6 separate regions of the Homo sapiens genome follow, and regions 1, 2, 3, 4 and 6 are each linked to region 5. Evidence: promoter capture Hi-C in 16 types of primary human blood cells and fetal thymus (Javierre and others, 2016). All regions are on one chromosome and are shown on one strand. Each heading gives the region's core, a stretch centred on a gene start or on the middle of the fragment in contact. The rest is flanking DNA. Distances are from core to core; before and after follow the strand shown.

Region 1 (5,089 bases), core at 2,421-4,920, 460 kb before region 5:
CTCTGCCTCCCAGGTTCAAGCAATTCTCTCGCCTCAGCCTCCTGAGTAGCTGGGATTACAGGCGTGAGCCACCACACCTGGCTAATTTTTGTATTTTTAGTAGAGACGAGGTTTTGCCATGTTGGCCAGGCTGGTTTCGAACTCATGACCTGAAGTGAACTGCTCACCTCGGCTTCCCAAAGTGCAGGGATTACAGGTGTGAGCCACTGTGCCTGGCCGTATTTTTTTTTTTTTAATTTGGAGATGGGAGTCTCACTATGTTGCCCAGGCTGGACTTGAAACCCTTGGCTCAAATGATCCTTCTGTCTCAGCCTCCTGAGTAGCCAGAACTACAAGGCCATGCCACCATGCCTGGCTTATTTGTGAAGACTAGAATACACTGCTGGCAGAATTCATTACTGAATGTTTGGATATAAGTATGGTTTATGGGGTTTCAAATGACTTGCAACCCTTTTATCAATATCAGCATTATAGAACTCACCATCAAGTTATCTTTCTAAAACATTTTTAAAAATTACCCTAAACCAAATATAGTAGTAATATATATATATATATTTTGAGACGAAGTCTTGCTCTGTAGCCCAGGCTGGAGTACAATGGCGTGATCTCGGCTCACTGCAACCTCTGCCTCCTGGGTACAAGCGATTCTCCTGCCTCAGCCTCCCGAGTAGCTGGGATTATAGGTGCGCACCACTGCACCCGGCTAATTTTTTGTATTTTTAGTAGAGACGGGCTTTCACCATGTTGGCCAGGCTGGTCTTAAACTCCCGACCTCAGGTAATCCGCCTGCCTTGGTCTTCCAAAGTGCTAGGATTACAGGTGTGAGCCACCGTGCCGCCAATATTTCAATCCTAAATCTGATTCAGATATAATAAGTAAATCTGTGTTTTTGAGTGACTATTAGTCTATAGATGCTTTTTCATAGATTTCCATATCTTATATTCCTATAGATAGCAGGCAGACCTATCTTAGAGATAAAACTGGATTGAGACTTTCCTTCTAAAAGTCTAAGGCAACTAAAGTCTATGGTTGATAATAGTCATAAAGAAATAAGCTTCAGCCGGGCATGGTGGCTCACACCTGTAATCCCAGCACTTTGGGAGGCCGAGGAGGGGCGATCCCCTGAGGTCAGGAGTTCAAGACCACCCTGGCCAACATGGCGAAACCTCGTCTCTACTAAAAATACAAAAATTAGCTGGGAGTGGTGGTGGGCACCTATAATTCCAGCTACTAACGAGATTGAGGCAAGAGAATCGCTTGAACACGGAAGGCAGGTGTTGCAGTGAGCTAAGTTCGGGCCATTGCACTCCAGCTTGGGCAACAAGAGTGAAACTCCGTCTCAAAAAACAAATAAAAAATAACCAAGCTTTTCTTGGGGAAAAATATAAACATATTAATGTTAGCTAGAAAATGCTACCATCAAATTTGCAAATGCTTTTCTGTTGAGTTTCAAAAGCATAATATGATGAACTCATTTTACAGTGAAATAATAAAAAAAAAGGAAACCAGATAGCTCAGTAAAATAGTTAGAAGCATATTTTTCTAAATTCTCTAAATTCACAAAATTTTGAAATTCCAGTTAAAAATATTTGTGGCACCAAACTCTAAATATGAAAGATGCCATTTGTCCATCTAATGTTTATGTGATGTTAGTAAAATAATCCAAAAATATATTAAATTTATATTAATATTATTAAAAGTTGTATTTATTTTATTTTTACAGGATACCACTTTTTAATTTTATTATAATATGGTAATGATACTAACAGACAAAATTAGGAAACAGGGAAGAAGGCCAGGTGCAGTGGCTCACGCCTGTAATCCCAGCACTTTGGGAGGCCGGGGCGGGCAGATCACCTGAGTTCAGGAGCTCAAGACCAGCCTGGCCAACATGGTGAAACCCCACCTCTACTAAAATACAAAAATTAGCTGGGTGTGGTGGTGGGCGCCTGTAATCCCAGCTACTCAAGAGGCTGAGGCAGAATTGTTTGAACCCGTGAGGTGGGTGTTGCCGTGAGCTGAGCTCGCGTCATTGCACTCCAGCCTGGGCGACAGAGGAAGACTCCGTCTCAAAAAAAAAAAAAAAAAAAAAGAAAACAGGAAAGAGAAAAAATTATCCATAATCTCACTGCACTAATACACCATTCTGATAGACTTCTTTCTGGTCATTTTTCCTACCCACATTACCCGAAGTAATGTGTTTTAATGTCCATGTGTTTTGTATCCAGATTTTTTTCATTTAATTTCTTACCAGTTGCTGTTATAGATTTTTATATTAATAGTGCATATAAATGATATAATAAAGACAGTAAGAAAAAAGCATAAAAACAAAGAGATGTTTAATATGTTTACCTCATAAATAGGAAGTGTAGGAGAATTCCACGCATTGATTCTTGATTCATTGACATCAACAACCGTTACCCTGATTTCAGGACACATATGAGCAATGACACTACATGTGGGTCCTCCAACATAGCCTGCACCGATGCAACAGATCTTCTTAATTTCAAACATGATTGTACTAGAAGGAAAACAGTAAGACTGTTCTAGTATTGAAAACAGAAAATTTAAAGAAATAATATTGTACATTAATTATACTTTATAAAAACTGTCAAGGTGACAGATATCTGGAAAGATTTCCTACATTCGCTCTGAGGAATTATGGAAATAGTGATTTAAAAAATAACATTCCAATTGGATGACCTAGCCTGTTCTCAGCTGCACTAGCATGAAACATATGGAAATAATTACAGTAACTGATATTACTGAAGGGGAGCCACAAAGATTATAATGACCTAATATTTAGAAAGTAAAGAATCAAAGTAAAACCTTCCTTAGGTCTATAATACACTAGGACAACTTTGATTGCTGAGAGAAAGCTCCAGGATGAACATACTTGTACGATTCTTGCTTAAATAAATGCTAGTGTACAAAGATGAGTTTATAACAGGTTTAGATTACGATGATATAGAATAAGATTAGTTCCACAGTCCAGAATTGGCCTCTGATGAGATTATATGCCCTACACACTACTTTGGCTTTCAAAGTTTACTTTTAGGTACTAGGCAATAATCTTAAACTCCATTTCAACTTTAATCAGAAACCATAAGGTGGTTAAAGAAAATGTAATTTCTGTAATTACCAAAGCTGTTACACAGATTTTTTTCCTTCCCAATGCCAGCAGAAAAGTGGGTTACACAGATTTTGATAGATTTTCAAAAGCATTAGGTGAACTGATTCACACTAATCAAAATGACAAGGAACTGATTTATACATAAGTATGCTCATTTATCCGTTATAATGAGAACTGTCAAACTGATCAGATTCTTAAAAGCAAAGAATGGTTTTGCCTTGCCAAGACCTCAGACATCATCTAATCTAACCCATTCACAGATTCCAAAGAGAAGGAAAATGGTAATCAGAGAGTTTAAGAATTTTTTAGTATACTCCTGTATGGATCAGAGAACGCACTCTGGAAGGCTGGCCTAATTTGAATGCCTGGCAAGAAGAATATCCCTATTATGAAAAAAGACAAATCATATAATTAAGATTATCCAATTCTTTTTGGTTTGAATCTGTATTAAACAATATTCTAAATTTTCGTTTGGTTCTCTGGATAGATTTCCCTACTAGAAGAAAATGAGCTGACTAATCCATGTAGGTATCCTGGATTGTTTGTAGCCTGTGTTAATAAACTACCAATCTGGCTTATGCATTGATCTTTAGTGGTATAGATATCAACTCATGGAGTCTGATCCCTCATGACTTTTTTTTTTTTTTTTTAATGAGACAGAGTCTTGCTCTGTCGCCAGGCTAGAGTACAATGTGACCTCGGCTCACTGCAACCTCCGTCTCCTGGGTTCAAGCAGTTCTCCTGCCTCAGCCTAACGAGTAGCTGGGACTACAGGCACACACTACCATGCCCAGCTAATTTTTGTATTTTTAGTAGAGATGGGGTTTCACCATGTTGGTCAGGATGGTCTGGATTTCTTGACCTCGTGATCCACCCGCCTCAGCCTCCAAAAGTGCTGGGATTACAGGCATGAGCCACCACGGTATTTATTTTTTTTGAGACAGAATCTCACTTTGTCACACAGGCTGAAGTGCAGTGGCACCATCTCAGCTGCACTTATTACAACCTCCGCCTCCTGGGTTTGATTCTCGTGCCTCAGCCCGCCAAGTAGCTGGGACTACAGGTGCATGCCACCACACCAGGTTAATTTTTGTATTTTTAGTAGAGACAGGGTTTTGCCATGTTGCCCAGGCTGGTCTCGAACTCCTGAGCTCATGCAATCTGCCTGCCTCAGCCTCACAAAGTGCTAGCATTACAGGCACGAGCCACTGTGCCAGGCCCCTCATGACTTTTAAAAAACAATTAAAAGAAATAGAACTTTGGTAAAATAGTAAAAATGGACAGAATTTTGAATTATATGATTCAATTAAATAGAACAGTATTCTATTTGAATCTGTATTCAAATAGTATTCTTAGCCATATGAAATAAATTTTTAAAAATTATTTATTCTGGCCAGGCACGGTGGCTCATGCCTGTAATCCCAGCACTTCGGGAGGCCGAGGAGGCTGAATCACCTGAGGTCAGGAGTTCAAGACCAGCCTGATCAACATGACAAAACCCCATCTCTACTAAAAATACAAAATTAGCGGGGCATGGTGGCACATGTCTGTAATCCCAGCTACTTGGGAGGCTGAGGCAGGAGAATCGCTTGAACCCGGGAGGCGGAGGTTGCAGTGAGCTGAGATCGTGCCATGTTGCACTCCAGCCTGGGCAACAAGCACGAAACTCCATCTCAAAAAAAAAAAAAAAAATTATTGATTCTGAATAATGTTCATATGGTTCAAAATTAAATCTGTTGTAACAAGGTACACATGAGAAGTCTCACTCCAACCCCTTCCTTATCTACTTTGCTATCCCCTACTTTGCTTCCACACAAGCAATCCGTTTTCTTGTATATCCTCCCAGCTACAAGTAAATATACATATATATTCTAATAATCTTGTCTTTCTAAATTCAATAGAATACCATATATACTATTAACACCTGGCTTTTTTCACTTAATTAAACCCAGTATA
Region 2 (4,720 bases), core at 1,666-4,165, 510 kb before region 5:
AAGTTTTCAAAGGAGGGAAAAAATTACACTAGAGCAATTGCTTTGGTTGTAATTCTAAAGAAAAGACTTCAAAAATATATTTGGCTGGATGCTGTGGCTCACGCCTGTAATCTCAGCACTTTGGGAGGCAGAGGCAGGCAGATTACCTGAGGTTGGGAGTTCGAGACCAGCCTGACCAACATGGAGAAACCCCGTCTCTACTAAAAATACAAGATAGCCAGGCGTGGTGGCACATGCCTGTAATCCCAGCTACTCGGTAGGCTGAAGCAGGAGAAGAATCACTTGAACTCGGGAGGCGGAGGTTGCAGTGAGGTGAGATTGCGCCATTGCACTCCAGCTTGGGCAAAAAGAGCGAAACTCCATCTAGAAAGAGAAAGGAAAAAAAAAATATATATATATATATATATTTTTTTATATTATATATATTCATATATATTTATATATATATATTCAGCACTAATATGTGTAATAAATGATGCAGAAGAAAAACTCGTGGCTCACGCCTATAATCCTAGCACTTTGGGAGGCCGAGGCGGGCGGATTACCTGAGGTTGGGAGTTCAAGACCAGTCTGGCCAACATGATGAAACCCCATCTCTACTAAATATACAAAAAATTTTAGCTAGGTGCAGACCTGTAATTCCAGCTACTCTGGAGGCTGAGGCAGGAGAATTGCTTGAACCCGGGAGGCGAAGGTTGCGGTGAGCCGAGATAGTGCCATGGTACTCCATCCTGGGCGACAGCAAAACTTTGTCTCAAAAAAAAAAAAAAAGAAAAAAACTCATATCATTCAGATGTACTTTTTAAAAAAAGTAGACACTATGCTTTCTTATTCCTAATAATTTCAGTAATTAAGACTAATCATTGGCAAGTAACACTGATGTAAGAAAAAAAGTAAGGATTGTTATCCACATCCATTCAAATTTTAGAAAAATGAACATTTTAAGCTTCGGGCAAGAGTAATATCATTTTTTTCTTTAATTTTAGCATTTAGCAGTGATTTTATTAGCTTCTACATATGATCTGTGTCATAGAGCCTGAAAGAAGTTACAGTAAACAATAACCACCATTTTCACTAAATCATAAACAGTAGAGACCATAACTTAATTTCAGTGGAGAAATTCTGTTAAAAAGTGATTTCTATAATGTCAGTTTCAGTTACTTTTAAGTTCATAAATTTGTTTCTTCTCTTTCCTGTTAACTAGTCTCCAATGAAAAACAATTACAGAAAATAAAGCTGCATTAGAATTGAAATGAAATCCAGTTTAACATCAGAAGCTTTCTGGCCTTTTGGCTTAAAGGATAAGTCATTTAAGCCATGGTGGTTTGGCCATTGTTGAAGTCTAGGACACAGCCTGTTCCAACCTCATCATGATACCACCACCAGTGGGTGCCAGTTTCCCTGGTTTCACTTAAAAACATGATCCTTTCCAGTGAAAATTCCAGAATCATGCATTTCTTTACCTAATATGTGGCAGTGTTGTATACTTACCAGCAGAGGGCAGCTTAGTCTTCAGAAAAGAAATGAACTTGAAAGTTTCAACCCTCTGACATGTGGGTTCAGCTTATTTTTTTCTTTGTTCAGTATGGAGACTCTCTTACTTCTGCTTTTTTTCCTTTCTCTTCTAATTTTTCGCTTCAGAATTCTGGTTTCTCAATGCATAAACTGAAGTAATTTCTTCCATTCTACTTTTCTCTGCCCCAGGCTTGAGATAGAACTAGGGAGCCCAGTGAGGCCTTTTCTTTCCTAAATTAACAGGCATCTGTGCATAAATGCTACCTTTGAACTATGTGATTTAAGATAATGTGCAGAATGTACTTCTCTGGTCTTTCAGGTTGCTTGCATAACTATGTACTTGGTTGAACTTGTAATTCTTGCTGACAACAGTCCTGCTGTTTTCCAGTAAGGTTCGTGATCCTCGGGCCAATTTTGATCAGTCCCTACGTGTACTGAAACATGCCAAGAAGGTTCAGCCTGATGTTATTTCTAAAACATCTATAATGTTGGGTTTAGGCGAGAATGATGAGCAAGTATATGCAACAATGAAAGGTAAAGAAATTGAAAAATGAAAAATCTTTCCCATGTAATTTGAGTAATAGCAGGAACCCACTCACTTTGAAGGCCCTTCTAAGAACAAAGAAAAGTATATGGTTATAGATGGCAGCATGAAAAGGAAACCAACTTGCACATGCACCCTCAAATCTAAAATACAAGTTAAAAAAAAAAAAGCAAAGGAAATAAATTTTCTTGGAATTTCATGGAGTGATATGCATGACGCTCAGGATACAAAATTTATATCCCATTTTATTCCCCATCCTTTGCATCCACTGAAAGCATGATTTCATCCACTTTTCTCATTCTATCATTGGACACTTTTGGAGAGCCAGCCTGGTACCAGGCACTGACAGTTCATAGATCAATGAGACTAATCCAGGCCTCTGAGAAAGAGCTTACTTGTAGCATTGTCACATAACATGGTGTGCTTTGGACTTTGCTGAACTTTAGTCCCGTAAGTCCATTTGCTTTGTGATTCTTGGACTTTTTAAACTTTGGAATTTCAAAGTTTTAATTTTAGCTGAGGACCCTTGGACTACTTGTAGTTATTTAGTGGTTCAAAGAGTAATAAGTTCATATAATAATCAAGACCTGCTGTTTACCACATTGCACACAGTTTATTAGAAAGATTCTGATATGTCATAGTTTAAATCACAGCCCCCATAGCATATCTTGTGCATTGAGTAAAAGCCTAATGCAACATATTTGCTCTATAATATAGGTGCATTGAGGTTTTTGCATATACCATTTCCCATACCTTTTCTACCAGACTCCTACTCTAAAATACCCTCCACTACTATTTTAGCATTGATTCCATAGTATTAGAAGTATTTATCCTTGTATGTATCAGCCCTACATGACTGTCTTAATTATTATTGTTTTCAGTCCTTACCACAGTCCCTGGCACATAATACTTTTGAATGAATAGATGTTGTCTTATTCCCCAACATGAAGATTATGGACTGTCATAAAGTTCACACCGTTTTTAAATATTCCTTAGGAAAATTATGCTTAGATCTACAATTAAAGTATTTGCTAATGTAATTTGTGCTTTTCTTCCTACAGCACTTCGTGAGGCAGATGTAGACTGCTTGACTTTAGGACAATATATGCAGCCAACAAGGCGTCACCTTAAGGTACATGTATCTTGATTTGCTTTTTTTTTTTTTTTTTATTTTTAAAGATGGAGTTTTGCTCTTGTCGCCTGAGCTGGAGTGTAGTGGCACAATCTCGGCTCACTGTAATCTCTGCTTCCTGGGTTCAGGTGATTCTCCTGCCTCACCCTCCTGAGCAGCTGGGACTACAGGCGGGTGCCACTACATCCGGCTAAAATATACATATATATAATTTTTTTTTTTTTTTTTTTTTTTTTTTGAGACGGAGTCTCGCTCTGTCGCCCAGGCTGGAGTGCAGTGGGGCAATCTCGGCTCACTGCAACCTCCACCTCCCAGGTTCAAATGATTTTCATGCTTCAGCCTCCTGAGTAGCTGGGATTACAGGCACACACTACCACACCCGACTAATTTTTTTGTAGTTTTAGAGACAAGATTTTGCCATGTTGCCCAGGCTGGTCTCGAACTCCTGAGAGCTCAGGCAATCCACCCGCTTCGGCCTCCCAAAGCGCTAGGATTACAGGCGTGAGCCACCGCACCCAGCCAATTTTTTATATTTTTAATAGAGATGGGGTTTCATCATTTTGGCCAGGCTAGTCTTGAACTCCTGACCTTAGGTGATCCACCCGCCTCAGCCTTCCAAAGTGCTGGGATTACAGGTGTGAGCCACTGCGCCCAGCCCATGTATAGCTTTTGACTCCCAAAAAAACATAACTACTAATAGCCTTCTGTTGACCGGAAGCCATACCAATAACAGTCAATTAACACACATTTTGTATGTTACATGTACTTATATATATACGTATGTGTGTGTGTATATCTGTATATACACACACACATATACACACACACACACACACACACATATATACACATCTTATTCTTATGATAAAGTCAGCTAGAGAAAAAATTTTTTGAAGAAAATCATAAGGAAAAGAAAATATATTTACTAGTCATTAAGTGGAAGTGGACCATCATAAAGGTCTTCATCCTCATCATCTTCATGTAGATGAGGACAAGGGAGAAGAGGAGGAGTTAGTCATGCTGTCTCAGGGGTGGCAGAAATGGAAGAAAATCCTTGTATAAGTGGGCCTGTGCAGTTACCATGTTGTTCAAGGCTCAGCTGTATTCTTATAAGTCCCAGTTTTCATTTTATTATCTACATAAATCAGCTACGTTTGCACATATTTGCTGCCTCCCCCATTCTCTTCACAAATTTCACAACTCAAGTGAACCTAGAGAAAAAGAATTTAAAAGTTGGGAAATGGCACTCATTTACACTTGGTTATTGTGTAACTTGTTTTTGTTATGTTAGAGCCAGAGGCGAAGAAAGAATGGGAAACCATTCTTTCTATTTCTATCATGGACATTTATCCATTCATTCAAGAAGCTTGTGTTGAGCAGTGACCATGTGCCAGTCACAGTGCTAAGCAGAAGATACAAGTTGAGTAAGACAGTCTTGTCCTCAAGAATCAGATAAGCATGAGTAATTCTTGAATTTAGCTGTTAACGAAGGAAAAATATAGATAAATAATATCTGTAGATAATCTCTT
Region 3 (4,822 bases), core at 1,817-4,316, 300 kb before region 5:
ATGGTTGTAGATGTGTGGCATTATTTCTGAGGCCTCTGTTTTGTTCCATTGGTCTATATATCTGTTTTGGTACCAGTACCATGCTGTTTTGGTTACTGTAGCCTTGTAGTAAGTTTGAAGTCAGGTAGCGTGATGCCTCCAGCTTTGTTCTTTTACTTAGGATTATCTTGGCTGTACAGGATCTTTTTTGGTTCCATATGAAATTTAAAGTAGTTTTTTCTAATTCTGTGAAGAAAGTCTATGGTAGCTTGATGCAGATAGTATTGAATCTATAAATTGAGCAGTATGGCCATTTTCACGATATTGATTCTTCCTATCTATGAACATTGACTGTTTTTCCATTTGTTTGTGTCCTCTCTTATTTCCTTGAGCAGTGGTTTGTAGTTCTCCTTGAAGAGGTCCTTCACATCCCTTGTAAGTTGGATTCCTAAGTATTTTATTCTCTTTTTGGCAATTGTGAATGGGAGTTCACTCATGATTTAGCTCTCTATTATTGGTATATAGGAATGCTTGTGATTTTTGCACATTGATTTTGTATCCTGAGACTTTGCTGAAGTTGCTTATCAGCTTAAGGAGATTTTGGGCTGAAACAGTGGGGTTTTCTAAACATACAATCATGTCATCTGCAAACAGGGACAATTTGACTTCCTGTCTTCCTATTTGAATACCCTTTCTTTCTCTCTCTTGCCTGATTGCCCTGGCCAGAACTTCCAATACTATGTTGAATAGTAGTGGTGAGAGAGGGCATCCTTGTCTTGTGCCAGTTATCAAAGGGAATGCTTCCAGCTTTTGCTCATTCCATATGATATTGGCCGTGGGTTTGTCATAAATAGCTCTTATTATTTTGAGATACATTCCATCAATACCTAGTTTATTGAGGGTTTTTAGCATGAAGGGTTGTCGAATTTTTATCAAAGGCCTTTTCTGCATCTATTGAGATAATCCTGTGGTTGTTGTCATTGCTTCTGTTTATGTGATGGATTACTTTTATTGATTTGTGTATGGTGAACCAGACTTGTATCCCAGGGATGAAACCGACTTGATCATGGTGGATAAGCTTTTTGATGTGCTGCTGGATTTGGTTTGCCAGTATTTTATTGAGGATTTTCACATCAATGTTCTTCAGAGATATTGGCCTGAAATTTTCTTTTTTTGTTGTGTCTTTGTCAGGTTTTGGTATCAGGATGATGCTGGCCTCATAAGATGAGTTAGGGAAGAGTCCCTGTTTATCTATTGTTTGGAATAGTTTCACAAGGAACAGTACCAGCTTCTCTTTGTACCTCTGGTAGAATTTGGCTGTGAATCCATCTGGTCCTGGACTTTTTTTGGTTGGTAGGATACTTATTACTGCCTCAATTTCAGAACTTGTTTTTGCAGTGGCTGGTACCGGTTTTTCCTTTCCATATTTAGTGCTTCCTTCAGGAGCTCTTGTAAGGCAGGCCTGCTGGTGACAAAACCTCTCAGCATTTGCCTGTCTGTAATGGATTTTATTTCTCCTTTGCTTATGAGGCTTAGTTTGGCTGGATGTTAAATTCTGGGTTGAAAATAACTTTCTTTAAGAATGTTGAATATTGGCCCCTACTCTCTTCTGGCTTGTAGGGTTTCTGCAGAGAGATCTGCTGTTAGTCTGATGGGCTTCCCTTTGTGGGTAGCCTGAACTTTCTGGCTGCCCTCAACATTTTTTCCTTCATTTCAACCTTGGTGAATCTGATGATTATGTGTCTTGGGGTTGCTTTTCTCAAGGAGTATCTTTGTGGCGTTCTCTGTATTTCCTGAATTTGAATGTTGGCCTGTTTTGCTAGGTTGGGGAAGTTCTCCTGGATGATATCCTGAAGAGTCTTTTCCAACTTGGTTCCATTCTCCCTGTCACTTTCAGGTACACCAATCAAACGTAGGTGTGGTCTTTTCACATAGTCCCCTATTTCTTAGAGGTTTTGTTCATTCCTTTTCATTCTTTTTTCTCTGATCTTGTCTTCACACTTTATTTCATTAAGTTGATCTTCAGTCTCTGATTATCCTTTCTTCCACTTAATCAGTTCAGCTATTGATACTCATGTATGCTTCACGAAGTTCTCGTGCTGTGTTTTTCAGCTCCATCAGGTCATTTATGTTCTTCTCTAAACTGGTTATTCTAGTTAGCAATTCCTCTAACCTTTTTCCAAGGTTCTTAGCTTCCTTGCATTGGGTTAGAACATGCTCCTTTAGCTCAGAGGAGTTTGTTATTACCCACCTTCTGAAGCCTACTTCTGTCAATTAGTCAAACTCATTCCCTGTCCAGTTTTATACCCTTGCTGGTGAGGACTTGTGATCCTTTGGAGGAGAAGGGGCGTTCTGGTTTTTGGAATTTTTAGCCTTTTTGCACTGGTGTTTCCTCGTCTTCGTGAATTTATCTACATTTGGTCTTTGATGTTGGTGACCTTTGATGGGGTTTCTGTGTGGACAACATCCTTTTAGTTGATGTTGATGCTATTCCTTTCTGTTTGTTAGTTTTCCTTCTAACAGTCAGGCCCTTCTGCTGTAGGCCTGCTGGAGTTTGCTGGAAGTCCACTCCAGACCCTGTTTGCCTGGGTGTCACCAGTGGAGGCTGCAGAACAGCAAAGATTGCTGCCTGTTCCTTCCTCTGGAAGCTTCATCCCAGAGGGGCACCCGCCAGATGATGCCTAGCTAATTTTTTTCAAGTTTTTGGAGAGATGGACTCTCCCTATATTGCCCAGGCTGGTCTTGAACTCCTGGCCTCAAGGGGTCCTTCTGCCTGAGCTTCTCAAATTGTTGGGATTACAGATATGAGCCACTGGACCTGGCCAGGACTAAATTATTTCTGAAAAAAACTTCTGGCCATGAAATTATATTTCAATTATTTAATTCAAAGCCACTAGTTATTTTAAGCAATTTAGCTTAGCAGATTAACTGATTGCCATTTTAGATAATGGATACATTAGTGGTTGTAAATGGTATAAATCCAATTCAAATTATTGCAGGCAAAACAGGATTCTATAGGCTCTTAGAATTCAAGAAATGGTTAAGCAGTGAAACAGTGGGAAGGACAGAGATTCAGCTGAGCCTTGGGAACCCTGATATTCACACTAAGATAGTAAGGTTTAAAAGTAAGATTTGACGGCCAGGCGCGGTGGCTCACGCCTGTAATCCCAGCACTTTGGGAGGCGGAGGCGGGCGGATCATGAGGTCAGGAGATCGAGACCATCCTGGATAACATGGTGAAACCCCGTCTCTACTAAAAATACAAAAAAATAGTCGGGCGTGGTGGCGGGCGCCTGTAGTCCCAGCTACTCGGGAGGCTGAGGCAGGAGAATGGCATGAACCCAGGAGGCGGAGCTTGCAGTGAGCCGAGATCCTGCCACTGCACTCCAGTCTCTGGGCGACAGAGCGAGACTCCGTCTCAAAAAAAAAAAAAAAAAAGTAAGATTTGAAATTGGTTACTTGATTTGGATGTGAAAGCCAGCCTTGGCCGATGAATTACAGAAAGCAGAAGGGAGAGGAGCAAGAACTAAGCTTTGCTGAATGTCTACTATGTGTCAGGTTCTGTGTTAAATTATTTCAAGAAATCTATCTATTTTAATCCTTACCAAAAAGTATAGAAACTGAAGTTTAGAGTGTTTTAAGAAACTTGCGTAAAGTCAAGTGGTAGGGCCGGATGCAGTGGCTCATGCCTGTAATCCCAGCACTTTGGGAGGCCGAGGCAGGTGGATCACTTGAGGCCAGGAGTTTGAGACCAGCCTGGCCAACATGGCGAAACCCCGTCTCTACTAAAAATACAAAATTTGGCTGGGCACGGTGGCTCACGCCTGTAATCCCAGCACTTTGGGAGGCCGAGGTGGGTGGATCATGAGGTCAGGAGATGGATACCATCCTGGCTGACGTGGTGAAACCCCGTCTCTACTAAAAATACAAAAAAAAAAAAAAAATTAGCCAGGTGTGGCGGCGGGCGCCTGTAGTCCCAGCTACTCTGGAGGCTGAGGCAGGAGAATGGCATGAACCCAGGAGGCAGAGCTTGCAGTGAGCTGAGATCACGCTACTGGACTCCAGCCTGGGTGACAGAGCGAGACTCCATCTCAAAATAAATAAATAAATAAATAAATAAATAAATAAATAAATAAATAAATAAAATAAAATAAAAATACAAAATTTACCCGAGCATGGTGGCCCGCTCCTGTAATCCCACCTACTCAGGAGGCTGAGACAGGAGAATTGCTTGAACCTGGGAGGTGGAGGTTGCAGTGAGCGGAGATCGTGCCACTGCACTCCAGCATGGGCAACAGAGCGAGACTGTCTGGAAAAAATAAATAAATACACACACACAAAAATAAGCAAACTAAAAGTAGAACCAAAGAAGTGGCAGTGACCAATAATTTTCCCTGGTTTGGTTTAATGATGCTCAGCTAATAATATGCTTGCAAATAAATATTTCTTTTTCTTTTCTTTTCTTTTCTTTTCTTTTTTTTTTTTAGACAGAGTTTGCTTTTATTGCCCAGGCTGGAGCACAATGTTGCGTTCTCGGCTCACTGCAACCTCCGCCTTCTGGGTTGAAGCGATTCTCCTGCTTCAACCTCCCAAGTAGCTGGGATTACAGGTGCCCACGACCATGTCCAGCTAATTTTTGTATCTTTAGTAGAGATGGGATTTTGCCATGTTGGTCAGGCTGGTTTCGAACTCCTGACCTCAGGTAATCTGCCCACCTCGGCCTCTCAAAGTACTGGGAAAATAGACATGAGCCACCACGCCTGGCTGCAAACATTTCTTAATAGTGGTAGCAGCCAGGTGCGGTAGCTCACACCTGTAATCCCAGCACTTTGGGAGGCTGAGG
Region 4 (4,751 bases), core at 1,059-3,558, 470 kb before region 5:
AATTAGCCAAACATATTCTGACCTGCTGTGATGGTCTTTTGATGTCAACTTGACTAGATTATAGTCCCCAGTTGTTGAATCAAACACTAAAGACCAAACAAAAAGAAAAAAAACAATCCAGGATCATGATTACCTGGAAGCCAATGGTTTGTAGTTCATTGTGGAGCCCATCCAGGACACGCCGTCCATCGAAGATAAAGGCTGGCTTTAGCATTTTTTTATGAATGCGTTCATAATCCAATTCCTGTAAAGACAAACCACAGGAACAATTAAAACACATACGTGGGCCGGGCGGAGTGGCTCATGCCTGTAATCCCAGCACTTTGGGAGGCCAAGATGGGTGGATCACGAGGTCAGGAGATCGAGACCATCCTGGCCAACATGGTGAAACCCCGTCTCTACTAAAAATACAAAAAATTAGTTGGGCGTGGTGGCAGGAGCTTGTAGTCCCAGCTACTCAGGAAGCTGAGGCAGGAGAATGGCGTGAACCCAGGAGGCAGAGCTTGCAGTGAGCCGAGATTGCGCCACTGCACTCCAGCCAGGGCGACAGAGCGAGACTCCATCTCAAAAAAAAAAACAAAAAAACAAAAAAACACATACATGAACACATACTCAACCCCAGCTGATAGTGGAACACCTCTAGAATTTTCCTTAGTATCTTTTCTGTTACCTTACCTTAAACATGTCCCACTCAGTGCAAATAACAACAGCATGGGCACCATCACATGCTTCATATGGATCCTTGGAAATGGTCACGAGCCGGGACACTGTAACAATAGCAACAACAAAAAAACAGAAATAAGAAAGGAGTTATATGACATTACAGTAGTTCCCCCCTTATCTGCAGGGATACATTCCAAGACCCCCAGTAGATGTCTGAAACTGTGGAGAGTACTGAACCCTATATATACTTACACACATACCTGTTTTTTGAATCTGATTGCCAAAAGTTACTAAGTGACTAAGTAGCATATGGAATGTGGATATGCTGGACAAAGGAATGATAAATGTCCCAGGCAGGATGAAGCAGCACACAATTTAAAACTTATGAATTGTTTATTTCTGGAATTTTCCTTCTAGTACTTTCAGACTGCAAGTGACCGCAGATAACTGAACCCGTGGAAAGCAAAACCACACATAAGGGGATAGTACTATAGGTATTCTAACACTAGGACTGCAGGAAGAGTTGGGAATAATCTGATTGCAGTATCAATGGGAGTGATGGTGGGAGGCCCCAAACCCTGCTTTGGAAGCATCTCTTTGGAATTTTGGGGATTTGTGGAGTATGTTGGAAAAATCAATGGACCAATCCACAGCTGATCACTTCAAATCAATGTTGATGACATTATGCCTAAGACTTTAATTTCAGAGAAATGAGGTTGAAAAGAGGGCCTACCAATGATATACATGATAAAACTGAACAACCTAAGGTTTCCAAAAGATAAAAAGTTTTCAGGTCTGGACTCAAAATGATTCATGAGACTCAAAGCCTTACCTTGGTCATCCTCTGAAACACCTGGATGAGAAAGATCCACAACTATTTGTTCCCTAGGTACTTTTGGATCATATATATGTAGATGTGCACCTTCATCCATCAAATATTTGCTAATATATATACTAGAAGATTCTCTATAGGAAAAAAAAAATCAGTATTGGTAAGCTTTATGTGGCATTATATTCTAATACCAGGGAGTTTAAGATACAGGTAAAATTATATTTCTGAAGCTGGTAGAGTGGTGAAGATATGGATATTTATTTTTATTCTTTATATTTTATATATATACATGTATTTTATGTACACCTACCCCAATCAAAAAATTAAGATGAGGAGTTAACACAATCTCAAAAGGGTTGAAATATTTTTAAAAACTGATACCTTGTATCACCAGTGTCCTTTTTGAATGCAAATCCCAAAATAGCTATCTTCTTATCAGTTACTGTATTAAACAGACTATCTATGATCCGGGAAGCAAACCTCCTCCTCTGGTAGTCATTCATGTCTATGACCTGAAATTACATGTACAATTGTGCAATGATTAGTTAAAAGAGGCACAGCCTATGACACACATTACTCAGAATTTTATGGTGAGTGCTATTGTACAAATACAATGCTTACATATTAACAAGAGGCAAAAATTAACCAAACTCTAGTGCCTATGGATTAAAAAAAAAAAAAAATCACTCATCCCCTTCCTTAAAGCCATCCTAGGCCAGCAGTGGTAGCTCATACCTGTAATCCCAGCACTTTGGGAGGCCGAGGTGGGCGATTGCTTGAGCTCAGGAGTTCAAGACCAGCCTGGGCACCACGGCGAGACCCTGTCTCTACAAAAAATACAAAAATTAGCCAGGCAAGGTGGCATGTGCCTGTAGTCCCAGCTACTTGGGAGGCTGAGGTGGGATGGCTTGAGCACAGGAGGCAGAGGTGGCAGTGAGCCGAGATCATGCCACTGCACTCCAGCCTGGGCGACAGAGCCAGACCCTGCCGTAAATTTAAAAAAAAAAAAAAAGCCATTCTAAAAATTTCTAATTTCATTTGGCTTGATTTTCTATGCATAAGGCTAGGATGGATGCCAAAAGTGGAGCGCACAACCAAGTTTTAATTCTAAGCGCATTTGAGGTTCAGCTATGAGACCAACCTAAATAAGGCACATAGGAAACCATACTATCCTTAGTCCGTGTCTCCAAATTCTGTGGAAACAAGCTACAAGCAATGAAACCCCAAAGTATTCCTTCATTTGCTTGTGCCCCACTATTCACAAAAATTCAGTTTCAGTGGAAAGTGGACAGGCAACAAACAATGTGCAGAGTTCTAGCTGCCTCTGGATGAACCATAACACCACAACTATTTGACAAGGTTTTTTAACTAACTAAATGTTATAAGAGTCTCTGATCACTTAATCTGTTAAATTTAGGTTGGTAACCGGGTGGGCGAAGCAAAAGAAACTTTTTTAAGGCTTTAAGCTTTCAGGGACCATCTCAATCAAACCCTGAGAGCTTAAGCAATTAGCCCAAAGTGTTGGAAAATCAAGAGTTTATCTGCATTTTTCACACAATGAACAGTGAGATAAAGCCATCATGATGGATTGACTGGAATGACACTAATTGTATCTGTTTTCACTTTAAAATGTGCATTTCCGGCTAGGCAGGGTGGTGCACCTGTAGTCCCAGCTACTCAGGAGGCTCAGGTGGAAGGATCACTTGAGCCCAAGAGTTGGAATCTAGGCTGGACAACACAGTGAGACCCTGTCTCTAAAAAGTAAAACATTTTAAAAAAAGAAACGTGCATTTCTTTAGATTCCCTCCCATATCTACTGCTGAAACCTGAAAAATTATAAACTCGGGGAAAATATTTGGGAAAGGCACATATACCGACTAGTAATTGGGGCAAATTACTTAATATCTCCATGTCAGTTCCCTCATCAAATAAAGAGGATAATGTTAGTGATGAGGATTAAATGAGATACTGTATGCAAAGTGCCCAAAAGAGTACCCAGTACAGGGTAAGCATTCAATAAACATCAACTCTACTTCCCAGAGCTCACTTAATGCTTCCAATTTGGAAGGGGTTTCTAATTTTAGCTCTGTGAGTCTGAAAGGTCCAAAACAAATATCAGCAGATACAAAACCACTTGAAAGCATGACAATATAGGTTCTGTTTTTTGGAGACGAAGTCTCGCTCTGTCATCTAGGCTGGAGTGCAGTGACACAATCCTGGCTCACTACAACCTCCGCCTCCTGGGTTCAAGCAATTCTCATGCCTCAGCCTCGCCAGGCCAGTCTCGAACTCCCAACCCTCAAGTGATCTGTCCACCTCAGGCTCCCGAAGTACAGGGATTACAGGTGTGAACCACCATGCCCGACCAACGTTATAATATAGGTTCTTATTTTATTTTGATTTTATGCCTTTCAAGATAGAGAAGAATTAGGCTAGGTTCACTGGCTAACACTTATATTCCCAGCACTTTGGGAGGCAAAGATGGGAGGACTGCTGAGCCCAGGAGTTTCAGACCAGCCTGGGCAATATAGTGAGACCTTGTCTCTACAAACAAAATTTTTTAAATAAAAAAATTAGCCAATGTGGTGGTGCGTTCCTGAAGTTGAGGTTGAAGTGGGAGGATTGCTTGAGCACAGGAGGTCACTGCAGTGAGCAGCGATGGCACCACTGCATTCTAGCCTGGGTGACAAAGTGAGATCTTGTCTCAAAAAAAAAAAAAAAAAAAAGAGAGAAGAGTTATAATTAAGGATAATTGTTTTTGTTTTACTCTGGGAGCAAATTAGAATACTGGCTTATCACAAACTTCCATCAACATTGATTAGCAGGAAAGATAAATTAAAAACACAGATACCCAATAAATAAACATAAAATAAGCAAATTGAATATACTAATTTTTGACTTCCTGGAATAAATAAATTCCATCAAAAACATTTCATGGACAAAAAGTGACATGCTTAATGAGAAGCTAAACAGAAACTGCTATTATTATTGCTGTTACTATTATTATGTCAGAGACAGGGTCTCACTCTGTTGTCCAGGCTACAGTGCAGTGGAGCGATCATAAGTCAGTCACTGGAGCCTCCAACTCCTAGGCTCAAGTGATCCTCCCACCTCAGCCTCCCAAGTAGCTAGGACTACAGGTGTGCAACACCATGCCTGGCTAATTTTTAAAATTTTTGTAGAGATGGGGTCTCACTATGTTGCCCAGGCCAGTCCCAAATTCCTGGCCTCAAGTGATGCTCTTGCCTTGGCTTCC
Region 5 (5,101 bases), core at 1,776-4,275:
AGATCATTCGAAGTCAGGAGATCGAGACCAAAGTGACCAACATAGTGAAATCCCATCTCTACTAAAAATACAAAAATTAGCTGGGCGTGGTGGCAGGCACCTGTAATCCCAGCTACTAGAGAGGCTGAGGCAGAATTGCTTGAACCCGGGAGGTGGAGGTTGCAGTGGGCCGAGACGCGCCACTGCACTCCAGCCTAGGTGACAGAGCAAGACTCCGTCTCAAAAAAAAAAAAAAAAAAAAAATTTAGCCGGGTGTGGTGGCACACGCTGGTAGTCCCAGCTACTTGGGAGGCTGAGGCAGAATAGCTTGAACCTGGGAAGTGGAGGTTGCAGTGAGCTGAGATCCCGCCGCCGCACACAGATTTGTTTTAATGAAAGGAACTGTTGTCTTATTCCTTCCAAAAAGGCAACAAATTGCAGAACCAAATTAAGAGTCTGAAAACTAAACCACAGGAATATTTTAAATACTGTACTCATTAAAATGCAACATTAGGTACATTTACTGGGCTCCAAGAGCAAGAGGCCAAGCTCATTCCCTAAAATACATTTGGCCAAGTGGCCCAAGGTGGAAACATTGTCAACAATGTTGCTTCCCTCACCTCCCACCAATTCTGATTGATTCTAACTCTGAAAAGTTGTTAAATCATTTCCTAGTCACTATTACCAATGCCATAGCCCTACCTGAAGATTTCAACGTCTTTCACCTAGACTACTGTTTACAGTTTCCTAGCCGGACTCACTGCCTCTGGTCTTCCCCTACTCCAATCTAGCACCAATTGTGACAACCAAAATGTCTCCAGCATTGCCAAACATCTCCTGGAGGTCAAAGTTGCCCTGACTCAGAACCACTGCTTCAAGCTGTTCCTACAAGAAGAATATTACTTATTTGTTAAGATTCTGGCCACAATCTATGTCAGTGGAACAGAAACCAAAAAAACTAACAAACATGAGGTTGAAATTTAAAACCTTAACCTTAGGACTGCCATGCTTAAACAAAATTAGCTGACACCTCATAAAAAGGGCCATAATACTCTTAAACTCCTTTGAACGTATAGACTTAAATCATCTTACTTTAAGCCTGAATTATGAAAAGTCTGTACCTTCTGTCAAAGTTTAACCACCATATATACATATTTAAGCTTCTGGATATAGAAAATTATGCAAATTTTTAAAAAGGACTTTGCGCTTTAATCAATCCCCTTCAGAAGCTGAAAATAGTAAACTTCTTAGGCAAATTACTGCCTACACCTAAGTTTGCAAGCCACTCTGAACAGTATTCTCATTAAATACCTCCAGAAAAAACTCTAAAAACACAAATTCTTATGCTTGAAAACCAGTAAGTTTTTGAAAAATCACACTCCTTTTAAATTTCCCACAATGGTTATATCCCTACAAAACTCACTCAAAGATGTTATCTGAGATACAACAGTACCTTTCAGAGGGGGTAAGAGATCTAAAAAACTTGGAACTTTAAAGGCCAGACTGAGCAGGGTAGCAGTATCACAGGAGAAAGCGCCTTCTACCAAAGACATCAAAATCCGTCCAGACACTTACCTTCAGGCGTTTGATCATCTCGTCCGTGGTGATCTTGTCGGTGATCTCTTTTACCCCCGGAGGGTAAGCGATCTTCCCGTCGGCACTCACGACGCCACAGAGGGCAGTGGCAGGCTTGGGCTGCGCGGTGAAGTCCATCCTGGGGGACAACTTTTGGTTCACAGTCCTCTACCGGCCTCTATCGGTCAGAAAACCAAAGTTCAGCGGGAAAGGGGCGACTTTGTAACCTCTTTTTTCATTTCAAATCTCTCTAATCTGGAAAAGGCCCTGTCTCCCCAGAGGCCGGGGACCCGGCAGCGGCCTCGCCACCCGCTCTTTCCCAGGGATCGAACCCCGCCGGCCCCGCCAACCCGGCCCTGCCAGCCCCAGGCTCACGGGGCTCCTCCGCACCAGCCGCCGTGGCCGCCGAACAGCGCCAGGAGTTTCCCATTCCGCCTTTCACAATGAAATCCACCCCCGAGCACCAGGGTCCGAAGTTTGGCGGCCCCGGGAGGCCGGCAAGGACCCCAAGGCCCCCGCTCGGCGGTGGGGAAGCACCCAGTCCCGCCCGGCCAGTCCCCTCCGGGAAACCAGACCCGAGGCCTATAGGGCTCGGCTTAGGCCGCAAAACTAGGGACCCAGCGGACCCACGCGCAGCGGCGGCTGCCGGGAACAAAACGCCCTTGCCCAGCCGAGCCTCGGACCCGGGGTAGTCCCCGCCGCGCTGCCACCCCTCCCCTGTTCCGCTCCCTCACCCCCGCGGGAGGGGAAAACAAGCCGCCCTCCACCCTCAGCCCCACGCCAGGAAGCGGCTGACGCGCCTCCGCACTTCACATTTTGTTCCTTCAACTTCGGCTGAGGGACCCCAGCTGCTTCTCTGGCCCCCGGCCGCTTGGCGCCTCCGGCACCGCCGAGGCCTTCCCGGCACCCTCGGGCGGCCCCACCGGGCCTCGGACCCGCGGCCCCCCCCTCCAGTCTCCCCTTCCGTCCCCTCCCTCCAGCAGCCTAGGGCGGGAGCCGAGCCGCCGCCGCCTTTACCTCCTCCTCATGCGGGCGGAAGGTGCATCGAGCGCCCGGGCCTCTGTCAGGTGGTTGCGCCGCCGCCCCTAGTCGGGCTGCACACAAAGCGGCTCCGCGGGTCCCGCCGCCGCCGCCGCCGCCGCCCGCCCGCCCGGGAGCGGCGCTGGGGCTGGCGGTGCCGAGGAGGAGCAGCCGCCGCGGGGGGAGACGCGGGGCGAGTGAGCGCTGGGCGGGGAGACAGTGCCGCTCTCCGTCTGGCCGAGGAAGAGCAGCCTCGAAGGCTCCTCCGGGAGTGTGTGCGCTTGTGTCCGTCCGGGACCCCCGCGGCCCGCCCGCACGCACCTCGCGCCGGCCCGGACCGCCGACTCGGACCCGGACGCCCCTCGCAGAGGCGCGCGCCCGGCCGTCCGTGCCCCGGGAGCCGGGGCCTCGCGCACACACCGGCCGGTCACGCGAGCGGCGCGAGAGCACGCGAGAGCAGCGCGCGCTCCTCGCTCCCTCCCCTTCCTCCGCCGGCCGTGCATCCGCCTCCCTCGGGCCCGAGGCGGCCGCGCGCAGGGCGGACAGCGCCGCCACCCGGTTGGCGCCAATACCTGCCGCGCGGGGCGCCTCCCGGAGGACCCGACCGGAGAGGGCGAGAGGAGGAGGAGCCCGGGTGGCGGGAAGCGAGCCCAGGTTCCCGCGGCCTTGCGAGGGCACGCAGGGCAAACAGTGCTTTATCTTTCGCAGCGGCGATGAGCTGGTGACTTTTGGGGGTCATCCTGAGGGACATAGACGAAACTGGTTGGGAGGTAGTTAATTGCTCGGTGAAAATGAACTGATTTCCTCCTCAGGGAGAGATCTGCAAAGTCAAGGAAAGTTGTGCAATGGGGCGCAGCGTGAGCGGCTCACTCTCGGGTCTTCTGACAGCCACCCGAGTTGCCCACCCTCCTTAGATTTCTGAAGTTAATATTTTGAAAGCTGCAAAACATGAAAATAGCATTGGGTCGAGTCGTTCTCAAGGTATGGTCTTTGGGCCACCAGGCCTCACAATCACTTTGGGTACTGGCTGAAAACGTAGGTTTCCAACTCCAAAGATTAAAAAACATAAAAATATATGTTTTTTTAACGTAAAAATATATATGAACATAAAACATATAAAAATATAACATATAAAATAAAACACTAAAAAATATAAAAATATACATAAACATAAAAATCTCTGAGAGTGGAACCCAGAAATAAGCATTTATTAATTGGGTGGGTGATTCTTGTAAATAAGGAAGAGCTCATTTTTTAAAAATGTTTTAAACCTACCAAGCATTAACGTTTTCTGTCATCCAAAGGAAAACCACTATCAGGTAAAAACAGTGCACGCAGCAGTGTTTGAGCAATTTAATGTATGTAATTGAAACAAATTAACGCAAGAACATACACTTACCTATTTAAAAAAAATCAAGAGCATACACAAAATTTCCGAAGAGAAAGTTGAAAAAAGGATACGATAATATGAAATCACATTCAGCTCTTGAAACTGACCACTACCATAGTTTAAAATGATATTCGATTGTTTATTCAAATTATTCTTGATGGGTACCCATTGGTCTATTTTTTTCCCACATCCTTTAACGTCAACTTAAAAATAGTAAAGGTACTGCATTTCAGCTCACTGACTTGTTTTTGACGTATTACACAAGAGCAGTCATTGCGAATCTGACACTCCACAGTTGCTGATTTGCTAGAACTCTGCCCAAAAGTCAATGCTTTGTTCTTGGGCATTTACAGTACCAGGCAGAATCCATTTAAAAGTGTCCTCATCCAAACTATTAAGTGGACCAAAAGCTGCTCTCTTTTTAGGCTCTCCCTGTCACTTTTGATATTTATTTTTTTCTTTTGAGACGGAATCTTACTCTGTCACCCAGGCTGGAGTGCAGTGGCGTGATATCGGCTCACTGCAAGCTCTGCCTCCCGGGTTCACGCCATTCTCCTGCCTCAGTCTTCCGAGTAGCTGGGACTACAGGCGCCCGCCACCACGCCCGGCTAATTTTTTTTTTTTGTATTTTTAGTAGAGACGGGGTTTCACCATGTTAGCCAGGATGGTCTCGATCTCCTGAGCTAGTGATCCGCCCGCCTCGGCCTCCCAGAGTGCTGGGATTACAGGCATGAGCCACCGCGCCCGGCCAAATTTGATATTTCTTTGTGTGTTACATTTAATTAAACAACAATGATTTTATCTTTCATCCTCCTCAGTAGCTTGCCCATTATTAAATGGAGTTTTGTATATGTACATATATTTTATTTTATTTATTTTTTATATTATTTTATTATTTTTTGAGATGAAGTCTCACTTTGTCGCCCAGACTGCAGTGCAGTGGCATGATCTCGGCTCACTACAGCATCCGCCTCCCAGGTTCAAGCGACTTTTGTGCCTCAGGCCCCCAAGTAGTTGGGACTACAGGTGTGTGCCACCATACCGGGCTAATTTTTTTTTGAGACAGAGTCTCCCTCTGTCGCCCAGGCTGGAGTGTGGTGGTGTGATCTTGGCTCACTACAACCTCTGACTTCTGGG
Region 6 (5,035 bases), core at 57-2,556, 490 kb before region 5:
GTTTAATACTGAGGAGCACCGGAGGATAACTCAGGCAGCCCTCCACTGGCTTGAAGCAAATGTACCAGCAGGCACAATGAACGCTCAGGCATATGCTCAAGGCCACCTCCCAGAAGCAGACCCACACGAGGACCCAAATGATGTAACCCAGTTTCAGCACCTGCAGAGGTACCAAGAGGCAATCCTGCAAAGGCTGAGAAATGGTGGGAAAAAGGCAATCAACATACGGAAAATCTCAGAGATGCTCCAGGGAGCAGATGAAAGCCCTAGCCAGTTTTATGAAAGACTGTATGAGGCATTCCGGCTTTGTACTCCGTTTGACCCTGAAGCAGCTGAAAATCAGCACATGGTGAACACAGCATTTGTAGGACAAGCCCAGGGTGACATCAAACAGAAGCTGCAGAAATTAGAAGGGTTTACAGGCACGAATGCCACCCAGCTTATAGAGGTGGCCACTGAGGTGTATGTTAACCGTGACCAAGAGGCAAAGAAGGAAGCAGAACAGAGGCTTGAGAAAAGGGCCGATCTGTTAGCGGCAGCCCTCGTAGAAAGGGAAACTAGTATTCTAAGAGGATGTGGACGTGGACATGGATGTGGAAGAGGTCAAGTTAGGCAGAGATCTGAGAGCCGGCCGAGGCTAGAGAGAGATCAATGTACATGATGCAAAAAGAAGGGACACTGGAAGGATGAGTGTCCAGAAGGTAATGAGGAGAGTAGTCAGGGCCATGGTATGAAGAGACCATCTGCCAAGGGCTGCCGCACCCTGGGGGAACTAGATACTGATCTAATCAGGCTGGCAGGGGCTGAAGGATATGAAGACTGGGACAGACTGGGCTCCTTCTCTTTAGGCCCCCAGGAACCAATAGTCACATTAGAAGTTGCGGGCCAGCTAATGGACTTTATGGTAGACACTGGGGCTGAACACTCAGTAGTGACCTGACCTATAGGGCCACTAATCACGAACTATACAACTATTGTAGGAGCCACTAGAGTCTCAGAGAAAAGGCCTGTCAGTCAAGGAGGTGTGTTATAGGAGGACGAGAGGTCCAACATGAATTCCTATACCTCCCAAATTGTCCAGTTCCTTTGCTGGGAAGAGACCTACTCCAAAAACTCCAAGTACAGATTGCTTTTGGGCCACAAGGAAGTATGACTTTGAGCCTAACTGAGCTGAAGGCCATGATGTTAACCCTTACTGTCCCACAGACTGAGGACTGGAGACTATATGCAAAAAAGACTCCAGAACCAGGAGTAAATGAAATGTATCGGTTACTTACTAAAATTCCTGGAGTATAGGCTGAAGATAACTCACCAGGGCTGGCTGTAAATCAGGCACTGGTAGTAGTAGGGTCAGAACCAGGAGGCCCCCTTCATTGCTGTGGAGATATAGTAGATAAGGTGTTCTCAAGCCAGAGAGATTTTACAGACCAACCCCTCAGGGCCCCAGATGTTGAATACTTTACAGATAGAAGCAGTTTTGTACTGGAAGGGATCTGACAAGCCGGGTATGCAGTAGTAACATTAAACTCAGCAGCAGAGGTACAGTCTCTGCCCACCGGAACATCAGCCCAAAAGGCAGAACTAATAGCCCTGACAAGAGCCCTTTTGCTAGCAAAAGACAAAAAAAGTCAATGTCTGGCCAGTCACGGTGGCTCACGCCTGTAATCCCAGCACTTTGGGAGGCTGAGGCGGGCGGATCACGAGGTCAGGAGATCGAGACCATCCTGGCTAACACAGTGAAACCCCGTCTCTACTAAAAATACAAAAACTTAGCTGGGTGTTGTGGCGGGCGCCTGTAGTCCCAGCTACTCGGGAGGCTGAGGCAGGAGAATGGTGTGAACCTGGGAGGCGGAGGTTGCAGTGAGCCGAGATGGCGCCACTGCACTCCAGCCTGGGTGACACAGCGAGCCCCGTCTAAAAAAAAAAAAAATAGTCAATGTCTACATGGATTATAAGTATGCCTTTGCTACATTACATGTTCATGGAGCTATATATAAAGAAAGAAGACTTTTAACTGTAGGGGGCAAAGAAAGTACAAAGAAGAAATTCTACAGCTCTTAAATGCTATATGGGCTGCTCCAAAGAAAGTAGCCGTTATGCATTGCAAAGGGCACCAAAAGGCAGGAACACTAGAGGCCAAAGGAAACAGAAAAGCAGACAAGGAGGCAAAACGGTCAGCAATGACTACCCCGCACTGTAAAGAGGAGATCCTAGCTTTGCCTCTCCTCCCAGAGCCTCCCCTGCCAGAGGTCCCAAATTATTCTCCAAATGAAACGGGCCTAATTTGCCCAAGAAGCCAGAAATTACATTGAAGGAGGATGGTGGAAATTCTCAGATGGGAGGCTAGCCATTCCTGAAATGGTAGCCCCTAAGTTTGTAAAAACAATTCCATCAAATAACTCATATTTTTTAAAAATGGCATTAGAGACACTACTTAGACTCCATTTCTGTGTGCCACGACTCACTGCCATTGCCCGAGCCGTTTGTGAACAATGTCTAACTTGTGTTCAGAACAACCCTCTGCAGGGGCCTACCCGGCCCCCAGGAATTCAAGAAATAGAGGCCACACCTTGTGAAAACTTGCTTCTGGACTTTACCGAGCTGCCCCAAGCAGGAGGCTATCAGTACATGTTGGTGTTCATCTGCACCTTCTCAGGGTAGGTTGAGGCTTTCCCCACCCGGACAGAAGAGGCGCAGGAAGTAACTAAAGTACCGATAAGAGACATTATTCCCAGATTTAGACTGCTTCTAACTCTAGTGTCAGACAATGGACTGGCATTTGTAGCTGAAATAGTTCAAGATCTAACACGGCTGTTAAAAATAAAATGGAAATTACACAAGGCCTACCAGTCACAAAGCTCAGGAAAAGTGGAGTGCATGAACTGGATGGACACTCAAGCAGCTACTGAAGAAATATTGCCAGGAGACTTATCTGAGATTAGATCAAGTCTTGCCCATGGTCCTCCTCTGAGTCAGGCGCACCCCCACTAAACAAACTGAGTATTCGCCCTGTGAGATTTTGTTTAGCCGGCCATCCCTAATCATAGGTCAAGTTAGAGGTGATCTCCGTGAGCTAGGAAAACTAACTTTGAGAAAGCAAATGCAGGCTTAGGGATAGCCATGTAAACAGTTCATAGCTGGGTACATGAAAGAATACCTGTTAAGTCTAACAGACCCAGCACACCGATTTAAACCTGGGGACTTTCTTTAGGTTAAAAAATTGGAATCCAACCACTTTGGGACCCATAAGAGATAGGCCCCATACTGTAATCTTGTCCACTCCCACTGCTGTTAAAGTTGCGAGAATCGTGCCTAAGATCCACCACAGTCTGCTGAAACTGGCGGCCCAAGACCGGTAGATCAGCCACCAGGACCCAGACCACCCGACCCGACTCAGCCTGCGACAAAACTAAGCTGCCAGTAGAGACAGCAGACCTGCTCTAGTCACTCCAGAAGCTGACTAGTCTATGCACCGGCTGAAGCTTGAAGAATCATCATCAGGGAAGTAAATGTAGCCAGAGATCTTAAGCCCAATAACTTTCCGTATAATATTAATTGTTTTGCTGGCCGGGCGCGGTGGCTCATGCCTGTAATCCCAGCACTTTGGGAGGCTGAGGCGGGCGGATCAAGACGTCAGGAGATCGAGACCATCCTAGCTAACATGGTGAAACCCCATCTCTACTAAAAATACAAACAATTAGCCGGGTGTGGTGGCGGGCGCCTGTAATCCCAGCTACTCTGGAGGCTGAGACAGGAGAATGGTGTGAACCTGGGAGGTGGAGCTTGCAGTGAGCCGAGATCGCGCCACTGCACTCCAGCCTGGGCGAGACAGTGAGACTCCGTCTCAGAAAAAAGAGAAAGACCCATAGAGGAATCCCTCACTGCATGCATACCACATGGTTAAGAAACACAATAGATAAGACTTTATTGTACTATACGTATTATGAGTGAACAGGAAGCCATCTGGGGACTTGCATGCACAACCAGACAACCTATTCAGTCTGTGACCCAAGAGATGGCCGGCCTTCTATGTGCTATAATCCCAAGCTCATACCTGAAACCCAAACCTGAAAACCAAAAGAGTCCCCAGACTCCCTCTTCAGAGGTTGGTTTTCGTCTTTTGGTGGATTTAAAACATGAACAGAAGTGGTGCTGGCTACGTTAAGTGGTTGCTTAATACTCCCTTGCCTCTTACCCCTCCTTGTCAGAAGCATTCAATCGACTTAGTAGACAAAACAACCACCACTCGACTAATGGCTCTAAGTACCAGCCATTGCCAACTGAAGAAAATTATGCTGCCATGAAGAATTAAATAATAGTGATGCTTTCTATTAAACTTCATTTATAAAAAGCATCAAAGGGGGGAATGAGGCAGAAATTAGAGAAAGAAGAAATAAAAACTAAAAGAGAAAAGCAAGTTTTCCTGTATTAGGCTGTCTCATCCCAAAAAGCAGTAACAGACACAGCCCAGGCCAAGACAAGGTCCCGATAACACTATGTAAGAAGTCAGGACCTAGTAGTGCTAGAATTATAGTCATGAACCACCATGCCCAGCCCACTTTAACCATGTTGAAGTGTACGATTCAGTGGCATTAAGTACATTCCCAATGTTATGTAACCATCAGTGTCTCTATTTTGACAAGTGAGTGAAGCCCAAGCTCAGTGTAGAGTTCAAGGCCTTCCACAATTTGCCCTTGGTCTAACCTTCCAGTCTTCTCCAGCTATTCCTCCTCCTACTCCCTTCAACTCCAGAAAAAAAGACAGCTTGCTTTCCCTAAAAGCAGCCTGAATCTTCCTGCTTCCATCTTTTTCTTCCCATTGCTTCTGCCATGGACCTGCCAATTCAAACCCACCCTTCCCCTACTAAGATCATGTCTCTTTATTAAGATCCACCTCAAATGCCACCGGGAAGGCTTCCTGTTTTCCTCAGCTGGAGTAATCTTTACCTCTGTGTCCACACAGCATTTTTTAAAATCACTTATGGCTATTTTCTTGGTTGGGCCAGTTATTTGTGTACCTGCCTCTCTTAAGATCT

Evidence for each region. The method cuts DNA at HindIII sites, captures the fragments that hold promoters and counts their contacts. A CHiCAGO score of 5 or more calls a contact.
Region 1: a fragment that was not itself captured here is called in contact with the fragment with the promoter of PDS5A in region 5 in 6 of 17 cell types (megakaryocytes, total CD8 T cells, total B cells and 3 more); the score reaches 7.9 in megakaryocytes.
Region 2: a contact is called between a fragment that was not itself captured here and the fragment with the promoter of PDS5A in region 5, in 14 of 17 cell types (fetal thymus, megakaryocytes, naive CD4 T cells and 11 more). The highest score is 37.5, in fetal thymus.
Region 3: a fragment that was not itself captured here is called in contact with the fragment with the promoter of PDS5A in region 5 in 1 of 17 cell types (endothelial precursors); the score reaches 5.1 in endothelial precursors.
Region 4: a contact is called between a fragment that was not itself captured here and the fragment with the promoter of PDS5A in region 5, in 6 of 17 cell types (endothelial precursors, total B cells, erythroblasts and 3 more). The highest score is 8.5, in endothelial precursors.
Region 6: a fragment that was not itself captured here is called in contact with the fragment with the promoter of PDS5A in region 5 in 5 of 17 cell types (total B cells, erythroblasts, endothelial precursors and 2 more); the score reaches 7.6 in total B cells.

Annotation. Positions count from the first base shown.
Region 1 is chr4:39,518,999-39,524,087 of GRCh38, forward strand. It overlaps UGDH (UDP-glucose 6-dehydrogenase), which reads right to left. Exons shown (of 12, transcript NM_003359.4): 2 at 2,353-2,521. The coding sequence starts at 2,514. Among named protein-coding and RNA genes, the nearest start is that of UGDH, 5.9 kb to the right of the region's middle. The HindIII fragment of the contact is 4,613 bases long and covers 1,365-5,089 here.
Region 2 is chr4:39,468,116-39,472,835 of GRCh38, forward strand. LIAS (lipoic acid synthetase) reads left to right here. Exons shown (of 11, transcript NM_006859.4): 8 at 1,904-2,049; 9 at 3,121-3,191. Among named protein-coding and RNA genes, the nearest start is that of LIAS, 11 kb to the left of the region's middle. The HindIII fragment of the contact is 3,280 bases long and covers 1,276-4,555 here.
Region 3 is chr4:39,671,778-39,676,599 of GRCh38, forward strand. No RefSeq gene overlaps it. Among named protein-coding and RNA genes, the nearest start is that of UBE2K, 24 kb to the right of the region's middle. The HindIII fragment of the contact is 883 bases long and covers 2,626-3,508 here.
Region 4 is chr4:39,503,742-39,508,492 of GRCh38, forward strand. UGDH (UDP-glucose 6-dehydrogenase) reads right to left here. Exons shown (of 12, transcript NM_003359.4): 8 at 1,877-2,007; 9 at 1,496-1,629; 10 at 676-767; 11 at 134-244. Among named protein-coding and RNA genes, the nearest start is that of UGDH, 21 kb to the right of the region's middle. The HindIII fragment of the contact is 1,301 bases long and covers 1,659-2,959 here.
Region 5 is chr4:39,974,886-39,979,986 of GRCh38, forward strand. It overlaps PDS5A (PDS5 cohesin associated factor A), which reads right to left and starts at 3,026. Exons shown (of 33, transcript NM_001100399.2): 1 at 2,572-3,026; 2 at 1,555-1,732. The coding sequence starts at 1,692. RefSeq lists an enhancer at 1,365-2,273 and silencers at 1,811-2,560, 2,611-3,250. The HindIII fragment of the contact is 4,779 bases long and covers 1,138-5,101 here.
Region 6 is chr4:39,485,870-39,490,904 of GRCh38, forward strand. No RefSeq gene overlaps it. Among named protein-coding and RNA genes, the nearest start is that of LIAS, 29 kb to the left of the region's middle. The HindIII fragment of the contact is 4,347 bases long and covers 1-3,480 here.